Linked DNA regions of Homo sapiens: region 2 is linked to region 1. Evidence: promoter capture Hi-C in 16 types of primary human blood cells and fetal thymus (Javierre and others, 2016). All regions are on one chromosome and are shown on one strand. Each heading gives the region's core, a stretch centred on a gene start or on the middle of the fragment in contact. The rest is flanking DNA. Distances are from core to core; before and after follow the strand shown.

Region 1 (5,256 bases), core at 2,502-5,001:
CGAGTGTAATAGTTGCATCTAAAGGATATCTAATGTTTAGTACTACAGATTATAACTAGGAAAAACTTGGAACTTGTTCACCTTGACAACTATTTTTCTTTGTAATCATTCCCTATTAAAGAGGGAGAAAAACACATTTCAAAGTTCCTCACATGAATACTAACATATCCTGTTCACTTTGCAAGTTCCTTTGTCAAATTATTTCCCTACATTTTTCATATTTCCTTAATTCATTCAACTATATTTAAAACCCCTATTCTCTAGCAAATACCAACGTAGGTACTAGGTATACAAAGAAAAAAATAAGACAGAGCCTCTACCAGGAGGCACTTTGACTGTAGGGAAGAGAGGGATGCATAAACAAGTGATTACAATACAATTGAGTCATGCTACAATAAAATATGATAAAACCCTGTGGGAACACAAGAGTGGGAATTCAGGGAAGACCTCCAGAAGGTAAAGTATGTATCATCTGACCATGAACCTTTCTCTGAATTTAATGAATTGCTGCTGTTCACTTATGCTCTCCCCCGAAGATTTCACCTACTCATATAGAATCTATCATGATTTACAGAAAATTTGTCATCTATACTGATATAAAGACTTCAAGGCTAATCCATAAATCATTGCTAATTAACCACAGAATACATTATATTGGAGGATTTGTCCTTGTTGGTTTTTAAAAAGCAGATCAACTTTCTCAATCACTGCTCATGTAAAGGGTAATACTGAAATAAATTCAGAATCCTTGAGCACACTACCTCAAAAGAAGGAAGGTATCCTGGGAAAATTCCAGTATGACTTGGAGAAATTTGCCTAAAATTTTTAAATGGCCAACATAAAGATATTCACTTAAATGTATTTGTGCAAGGCAAAGCTAGGTATCAAAGTATCAGAACTTTTTCTAACTACACTAGATCAACAAGTGTGTTTTAAGTCACTGCTACTTAAACTGACTAAATACATTCTCAATTGTACCAGAAAATAATTTAATATGAATTTTTAAACCAATTCCCCAAAGAGATGTTTTTCAAAATATCTCATGGCAAGTACAAAGAATAGTAATTATCAAATACAGAGAACACTCAAGGGCAAAGTTAGAAATTTTTATCCTAGGCTGGGCGTGGTGGCTCACGTCTGGATCAGCATTTTGGGAGGCGGAGGCGGGTACATCACTTCAGGTCAGGAGTTCGAGACCAGCCTGGCCAACATGGTGAAACCCTGTCTCTGCTAAAAATACAAAAATTAGCCGGGTGTCGTGGTGCGTGCCTGTAGTTCCAGCTACTCGGGAGGCTGAGGCAGGGGAATTCCTTAAACCCGGGAGGCAGAGATTGTAGTGAGCCCAGATCCAGCCACTGCACTCCAGCCTGGACGACAGAGCAAGGCTCTGTCTCAAAAAAAAAAAAACATATACACACACACACACGCGCGCGCACACACACACACACACACACACACACATATGTATCCTAAAATATCCGAATTTCTGCCAAAAATCTGCATAACTACCTTATCTCATAATGGACAAGATTATTAATAGGATTTTTTAAATACAGAATTAATAGTAACTAATATAAACGTTACTTTTTTGTTATAATGTCTCAACACTTAGACCAGCACCTGGAATGCCCGTACAGTGGTGTCAACACTCTCCAAAATATATGTAATAAATTTATATTGCATTTATTTGTCTCCATTTTTATGAAACCTTAAGTTAGCAGATGCACATTAGATCTTTATCATATAGGACAGTGCAACCAGAAGAACGCCTATGTTTTTCTAACTTGTTTTCTTGGAATATATTCACTTTCCACAAAAACGAGAATTTAAGATGCAGTGTTCCTGTTTCCGGGAAACCTTAAATATTACATCACCCAACACACCTCCGAAAAGAGAGAACAAGACGCTTTATATCTATGACTAGAATCCTACCTATTCCTAACTTTAGAGACCATGAATAGAAAATTAAAATATATCTTAAATACTTGTTTTCCTGCAAATAAAATTACAAATAAACAAGTTAGGATTACACACTTGTACAGTATTCCTAAACATGAATTAGTTGCTAATGCTTATGAAGAGTAATAGAAAATAAACTCCAAAACCCCTAAAAGTATAAACTACATTCAATTGTGACAGCATTCGTGTTTTTCAAAGGTTTATTAAATGCTGTTTTATGATGACATCAAAACGCCACAAAATTAAACTAATAATAACTTGCTTGAACCCTAAAAAGCAAGCCTTTAAGTAAATAGCAAAGACACATTTTTATTTCCAAATGAATTTAAATGTTACAGATCCTGTGTGATAAAGGAAGTTTAACTGTGGACAGCACACGTTAAATTTCTTAGGCAACAAACATTTCTCCATGCAGTCTTTTCTGAATCACCAAAGCTATTGTTCACAGAAAACGAGACCAATTAATAAGAAACTGCTAACCGTATAATCTAAACACACATTTGTCATAGCCATTCTATTTTGATCACCTACTTCTACCACCTCATCCTCATTCAACCCGTCGGGATTTGGGGAATAATCTGGCTGAATGACAGTTGATTTCGTTAGCACCTGTCGCCATTCTCAGATGTATCACACAAGTTGGCCAAAACAGCTTGTAATGTTTAAGGATTACGATTCTTTAGAAAGTGGCAACTCACTAGGCGTTCACCAAGTTTTCCAAAAGATCGTGCTTCTCGATTCCTCCCGCTTTCAAAAAGTAACCCTGTGGCACAGATTTTTGGGGGGAACGGAAGGGGATGTACACAATGAAGTGGGAATTCAACAGGACGCCCTCCAGAAACACAATCAATAGAGAGCAGAGCAGCTCGACTCTTCCCTCAAACTTAGCATAAAGCCAGACCAGGCGGCGAGGGCAGCCCGCGACCGCCGGAGCTCAGGGGGATTTCGGGGTGCGTCGTGGGGAAACGTCAGAGGCGAAGCTACTCCGAGTTCCCCGCCGCGAACGTCGTCCCGCGAGCGCCGCGGCCCCAGCCCGGGGTCGGCGCGCCCGGGACCGGGGGCGTGCGCGAGGCGAGGGCCGAGCCCTGCCCACCCCGGCAGCGGCCCGCGCCTCCCCACGCCCCTCTCCCGCCCGCCGGCGGGCCCGGGTGTCATGCCCCTTCCCCTCGCGCCGAGCCCTCCGGAGACACAGTCCGTCCTTTGTCTGAGTGCGGACTCGGCGGCTGGGTCCCACCAACTTGTGTCTGTCCCGTCCCACCCGGGCGCTCCCGCCGCGGCCGCGCCACACAAAGGAGACTTGAGGCTCGAGCTGCCACCCTGGACCGGGCACCGGAACGCCCCGACCCCGGCCCCGGCGCCCCGGCCAGGACAAGCACCGGGAAAGGAGCCCCCCACACGCCCCCCGCCCCGCAGCTCCAGGGGTGTGCGCTGCCTCACTCGCAGGGTCCCGCGGGCCAGCCCGAAGCTCACAGCTCCTTCCGGGGAGGGGGGCTCTCCCCTCACCCTCCACCCCCCGCACGCCTACAAACGCGGCGCCCCGGTGAGCCCCGCTCGGCGATACCCGGGACCGGCACAGCAGTGGCGGGGAGGTCCTGGCGCCGCCGCCGCCGCCCGGTTCGCACTCCCGGAGCCCCGCCGGCCGGGCCGCCCGCAGCGGCGCGTTACCTTCGTCCCGCGCGCCGACTCGCGTTGTTCCCGCGCGTCGCCCCCGCGCGCCGCCGCCGCCGCCGCCGGGGCTCCACTGCCTTCTGAGTCCCACCGGGTGTCGGACGCGACCGGACCGAGCGCCAAACGCGGCAGCCCAATCGCCATCGCTTTTATTTGGCCCCCCCAGCCCAATCAAGCGCCGCCCCGATTGGCGGGACGCGAGGCGGGCGCCCGTCCAATCACAGGGCCCGCCGGGCTCGGAGGCGCCGAGCCAGCCCCACGCAGAGTGCGCTCAGGGCTCGTGGGCGGGCGGGCACTGGCAGCGCGTGCGCGCGCGGGCGGCGGCGGGGTTCGCTGTAAGGGACGCCACTGGCCGTGTGGAAGCGCCGCCGCCGTCTCTTTGTTCTTTCGCTGAACACACGGCGCCTCTCAGGAAGGCGGTGTGCAGGCACGCGGGGACCGGGAGACATCGCGGGGGCCCGGAGCCCGCCGCGGACGGGAGGCGGGGAGGATAGGTGGCGGGAACCGGCCGAAGGGCGGGACGAAGCGCCGGCGGCTCTTGGCGGGAACCGGCGCCGCAGAGTTCCCGGGCGGGGGAGGGGCGGGGCGGGTGCTGGAAGCCAAGTTTGAACCAGTTCAAAACTCGGGGGTGGTAACGGTTTTAACCGCCGCGCTCGTTTCCCCGCGCGCGGAGCCGAGGCCCGGGCTGGCCGCTCCTAGTGGTGCCCGGGGAGGGGAGGGCGCGGGCCCCGGAGGTCGGCTCAGCTGTGGCGCCGCGTTTGCCGGGAGACGCTCGCCCGGCCCGCGCGCTGCCGCCGGACCCGTTACTACTTTTTTTTTTTTCTCCTGAGACGGAGTTTCGCTCTGGTTGTCCAGGCTGGAGTGCAATGGCGCGATCTCGACTCACCGCAACCTCCGCCTTCCGGGTTCAAGCGATTCTCATGCCTCAGCCTCCCGAGTAGCTGGATTACAGGCATGCGCCACCACGCCCGGCTAATTTTCTATTTTTAGTAGAGACGGGTCTTGGTCAGGCTGGTCTCGAACTCCCGACTTCTGGTGATCCGCCCGCCTCGGCCTCCCAAAGTGCTGGGATTACAGGCGTGAGCCACCGCCGCCGACCCGGGCCCTGTTTGATTATGTCTGCTGCTGCCTTGGCCGTTTTTTCCCCCACCGCTGGACTTTGGCTGGCCGAGCTTGCAGTGCTTATCGCCCTAGAAACCTGTGAAAGGGCGACATTGCTGCCATTTCAGACCCTTCCACTGTTCGTAGTTCTAAGCACGTGTCAGTGTTAAAAATCCTTTATCAAGATGAGCACTGTTCACTTGCCGCCTCTGCAAAGTGTGAGGATATTTGCAAGGCGCGGTGGCTCACGCCTGTAATCCCAGCACTTTGGGAGGCCGAGGCGGGCGGATCATAAGGTCAGGAGATCGAGACCATCCTGGCTAATAACGGTGAAACCCCGTCTCTACTAAAAATACAAAAAATTAGCCGGGCGTGGTGGCGGGCGCCTGTAGTCCCAGCTACTCGGGAGGCTGAGGCAGGAGAATGGCGTGAACCCGGGAGGCGGAGCTTGCAGTGAGCCGAGATCACGCCACTGCACTCCAGCCTGGGCGACAGAGCGAGACTCCATCTCAAAAAAAAAAAAAAAAT
Region 2 (5,007 bases), core at 556-3,055, 270 kb before region 1:
TTGATGCCGAGGGAAGGTCGGCCAGGGGTGGTTGGAGAAGGGTCCGGCTGCTGGGCAGCCCAACTCCAGGGAAAGATTATTTCCCCCACCCCTTCAACTTCCGGCTCCCCATCCATGTTGCTGAGTGCCGCCTCCATCACTCAATAAAAACTTGCACTTATCCTTCGAGCCCATGTGTGATCCGATTCTTCTGGGACACTGGGCCAGAGCTCAGGGAACAGAGGCTGTCACACTGGCCCTCTGCCCTTGCAATAAGGCAGAGGGTCCATTGAGCTGATTAGCACACAAGCCATCTGCAGATGGCAAATCTGAAAGAGCTTGGGTTACACGTGCCCACCTGGGCTTTGGGAGTTGCAGACACCCACCCCTAGACATTGCTGCGGGGCCAAGAGCCCAAAGCATTCATCCCGGCATCTGCACCTGCCAGTCTGCATGCTCCCCCTAGGGGTTTGAGCTGCAGGGCAACCAAGCAGGTGAGCCACACCTGTGTTGCATGTGCTGCAGGGGGAATCAGGGAACGCTCCCATTTCACTAGCTTTCAGTACCTGCTCCCTCCCTGTCCACCACACTGGAATAGCAACCTTGCAGCATTGCCAGCCCTGGGGGCTTCATTATAATGCCTGGTTTCCTTGCACTATCAGTGCCTCTATAGAAAAGGCGCTTGATTAAATTCTCCCCAGTCAGACCTTCTGAATATTCCACCTGCTTCTGGCCTGGACCATGACTGACAGAGATCTTTGTAGTCAACTGAAGTTAGCCAGTGATTTTTTTTTTAATTTCCATTGCTGTTTTCTTATTTCTTGGTTCTAAGTATCTTATTTCCTCATCTTCTAAGTGTGGCATTAATAATGAACTTCCCATCAGATCTATAAGTTGAAACTCTTTCATCTCTACCTTGAAGAGCTAGATATTTCTTTCAAAATGTTGGAACTATACAAATGACAAAAGAAAAAATAGAGAAATTGGACTTCATCAAAATTAAAATCTTTTATGCTATAAAATGTATTATCGACAAAGTGTAAAGCAACCTGCAGAATGGGAGAAAATATTTGCAAATCATATCTGATGAGGGACTTATATCCAAAATATAGAATTCTTACAACTCAATAAATAACCCAATGTTTTTAATGGGCAAAGAATATGAACAGATATGTCTCCAGAAAAGATTACAAATAGCCAATGTGTACATGAAGAGATACTCAACATCATTAGCCATTTGAGATATGCAAATCAAAGCCAGAATTAAAACCACTTCATCCCCACTAGGATGGCTATAACTAAAAAGGCAAGTAATAACACGTGCTGGCTGGTGAGGATGTGGAGAAATTGACACCCTCATGCATTGCCAGTGGGAATACAGGATGGTGCCAGCCACTTTGACACTTCCTCAAAATATTAAACACATACTAGATCTTTTCCCTTTTATTTTTAGTTGGCACATAATATTTATGTGATACAGAATGATATTTCCATACATGTATACAATGTGTAATGATCAAATCAGGGTAATCAGTATATCATCACCTAAAATATTTATCATTTTCTTGTGCCATAAACATTCAAAACCCTCTCTTCTAGTTTTTTGAGAATATAGAATAAATTACAGTTAACCATCTTCACCCTACTGTGCTACAGAACAGCAGAACTCATTTCTTCTATCTAGCTGTCATTTCGTATCCATTAACCAGCCTCTCCCTGGAGTCTCCTCCTCACCACTCTTCCCAGACCCTAAGACTCACTGTTCCACTCTCTATTTCCATGGGCTCAAGTTTTCTTTTTAGCTTCCACATATAAAGGGAACATGTGGTATTTATCTTTCTGTGCCTGATTGATTTCACTTAACATAATGACCCAGCAATTCTACTTCTAGGTATATACTCAAGAAAGTGAAAATATGTGTCCACACAAAAGCTCTGTACACAAATAACGTGCATAGCAGCATTATTCATAATACTCAAAAAATGGAAACAACCCAAATGTCCACCAAATGATGAATGGATAAATAATTCGTGGTCTACCTATATAATAAACTATTACTGGGCAATTAAAAGGAATGAAGTTCCGATTCATGCTACAACATAGTCGGACCTTGAAAACATCACGCTAAGTGAAAGAATTCAGTTACAAAATACTACATGTTTGATTCTATTTATGTGAAATGTCCAGATTGGCAAATCCATAGAGGTAGAACGTAGATTAGTGGTTGCCTGGGGAGACTTAGGGAGAAATGGGGAGTGACCGCTAATGGGTACAGGATTTCTTTGGGGGATGATGAAAAAGTTCTAAAATTGACAGTGGTGACGGTTGCACATTTCCTTGAATATACTGATAACCACTGTAAACCTTGAATTGGTGTATTACCTGTGAATGATAAAGCTAATAAAAATTAAAATGGTGTGTTTTAAAATTTTGGAACCAACTAATTCTAAAAGCAAATGTTGCCAAAATTTCCAGAATATCTTTGTCTATAATCTTTAGGCTATTTCATGTGTCTGACAGCTACTTAGTAGCCTCAAAAGAAATGTGAGAACAAATTAGTAGCTTACTGATCACCATCTTTCCACCCTTTAACCCAATTTGTTTGTTTGTTTGTTTTTTCCAGAAGCCAAACCCACACCAAAACATGAACCGGGGGATGGAATTTATTGCTCCTGTATCAGCTCCCACCAAATCTGGTGCCCCGTGGCATTTTCTTTCTCAAGGTCCCACGGATGCCCAGAGAGCAGTCAGAATCAGGCCAGGCACCAGGATGGGCTTGTCCTCAGATCCAGTTGTCGGCACCTTGTCTTCCAGTTACCTAGATCTGCTAACTCTCTCTTACAAGCCTGGGAGGACAGTGACAAGTTCATACCTAAACGTAAGCTCCGAAGTGTCTTAGCACCTCCAAGTTTAAGGAAACCCACGGGATGCTCTGAAACTTCCATGAAAATGAAGATTGGAGGGATTGTTGCATTCTTGCATGCCTGGATGTTTCATATTCTCTGAATGTCCAGCATGAAACTGATCTGATCCCATGCTTTTTTGCCAACTTGATTTATGTTAAGATAAAAGAAAGTGCCCCTTACCAAGATGCTCTGAAAGCACCTTCTCCCTTGTATTAATGATAACTAATGTTATTAAGAGAACATAAGGCAACTTTAACAAAATAAGAGCTCACTAAAGGGGATCCTGTATGGGAATTCTTCGTGCAAATGCCATTTCGGAGCTGGCATTGTACTTGCAGATGGAGTCTCTACAGGAAGCTATGGCTTCGGTCCTACGTGAGCCCGTACAACCACTCAGCACATAAAGTTCCATGAAATTGGTGCCTCAAACCACAGTATCTATAAAGGAACTCCTAACTTAAAAAGTAATCCATCAATAGTAAGGATTTTTAAACTTCAGCCTAAAAATTTTAAATACTGTTAGTAGTAATAAAGCAATGAGATTTCTCTAAAATTATTGTTGCCTGTATCACTTTAAATCTTTGACATAAATGAAAAGTTGCATGGAAAATGCTAAAGTTCTAAGCAAATAGGTTGAGCATTAATAAATAGGAAGATGAAGTAAGTGAAATTGATTTTGTTAGGAACTGGTGGGAGCTGGTAGAGATAGCGATTTTTTTTAATACTTTTTAAAATTTTTATCTATTTACTTATTTTGAGACCAGGTTATAAGACTGGCTAATTTTTATATTTTTGGTAGAGAAGGGGTTTTGCCATGCTGCCCAGGCTGGTCTCAAACTCCTGGGCTCAAGCGATCCACCCACCTTGGCCTCTCAAAGTGCTGGGATTACAGGCATGAGCCACCATGCCAGGCTGAGACAGTGTTTTAAACTGTGCTATTGATGTTCTAGGGAAAAGGTAAATCATCCTGAGATAACAGAAGTCTTCGTAATCCACATGTAGGTACGTGGGCATGAAGTAAGAAAGCTCCAGAATTCTGTTGAGGCCACAAGGATTTCCAGAACTGACAGCAGTTAAGAATTTTGCAGAATCTAAGAGTCACATCTCTAAATTTGTGTAGATTGTGAAATCTCTTCTTGCAAGAAAAAAGAGAAATAGCTGAAGTTCTGGAAATAACAGTTGATGAAAACTTGGTAATCTGAAGTCTGAACTTTGAACACCAGCAGACAGGCTGAGAATTCTCTTTGATCATGAGCCCAAGTTCCACGTGTACCTGCAGGAATCTGTGTGGCATTTGTGCACTGGTGTGGGGCCCAGGAGAGGACCACGGAGTGACAAGCCACCAGGTTCTAAAGGGAGACGAAGATCCCCAGAGGACCTGGATAGAGATGTTTCCCTGACCATTGTCTGCTGTGTGCTCCCGATGATGAGACTCTAGAGTTTACAACTGAAACACACTGTCATTTATGATATTATTTGTAATATCTGGTATGTCTAAGTAAAACATGCATTCAGTAAAACTCGCGATGAAACTTATCTCATTGTGTGGATTTCATTCTTCTCAATTCTTTTATGTTTTCTGGGGTTTTTTCTAGATGGAGTTTCACTCTTGTCGCCCAGGCTGGAGTGCAATGGTGCGATCTCGGCTCCCTGCAACCTCTGCCTCCCGGGTTCAAGCGATTCTCCTGCCTCAGCCTCCCGAGTAGCTGAGATTACAGGTGCCTGCCACCACGTCCAGCTAATTTTTGTATTTTTAGTGGAGATGGGGTTTCACTATGTTGGCCAGGCTGGTCTCGAACTCCTGACCTCAAATCATTTGGAAACCACCATATTGAGTGTGCAGGAGGGGAAATCCTACCAGTTTGAAATGCAGTTTGGCCGCTTCTTTACTCTGTGATAATATTGTGTTTGTCAGCAAGGGTTCCCTAGCAAGGTACCACAGAGCGGGGTTGGGGGACGGGCTTAACCAACAGAGGCACATATCCTCACAGTTCTGAAGGATAGAAATCAGAGACCAGGGCATGGGCAGAGCCTTCTGAGGCTCTTTGACTTGTATAAGGCCATTCTCCCTGCGTCCTCACATGGTCGTCCCTCTGTGCATGTCTGTGTCCTAATCTCTTCT

What was found. Contacts are between HindIII fragments. The CHiCAGO score rates a contact against its expected background, and 5 or more counts as called.
Region 2: a contact is called between a fragment that was not itself captured here and the fragment with the promoter of EZH2 in region 1, in 1 of 17 cell types (activated CD4 T cells). The highest score is 6.4, in activated CD4 T cells.

Annotation. Positions count from the first base shown.
Region 1 is chr7:148,880,540-148,885,795 of GRCh38, forward strand. It overlaps EZH2 (enhancer of zeste 2 polycomb repressive complex 2 subunit), which reads right to left and starts at 3,752. Exons shown (of 20, transcript NM_004456.5): 1 at 3,625-3,752. LOC124901767 (a long non-coding RNA gene) reads left to right here and starts at 4,650. Exons shown (of 2, transcript XR_007060579.1): 1 at 4,650-4,944. RefSeq lists silencers at 2,916-3,505, 3,666-4,035, 4,156-4,385 and an enhancer at 3,006-3,697. The HindIII fragment of the contact is 14,290 bases long and covers 1-5,256 here.
Region 2 is chr7:148,611,440-148,616,446 of GRCh38, forward strand. C7orf33 (chromosome 7 open reading frame 33) reads left to right here. Exons shown (of 3, transcript NM_145304.4): 2 at 2,603-2,857; 3 at 3,888-4,421. The coding sequence ends at 3,962. Among named protein-coding and RNA genes, the nearest start is that of C7orf33, 23 kb to the left of the region's middle. RefSeq lists enhancers at 1-251, 252-752. The HindIII fragment of the contact is 6,964 bases long and covers 1-5,007 here.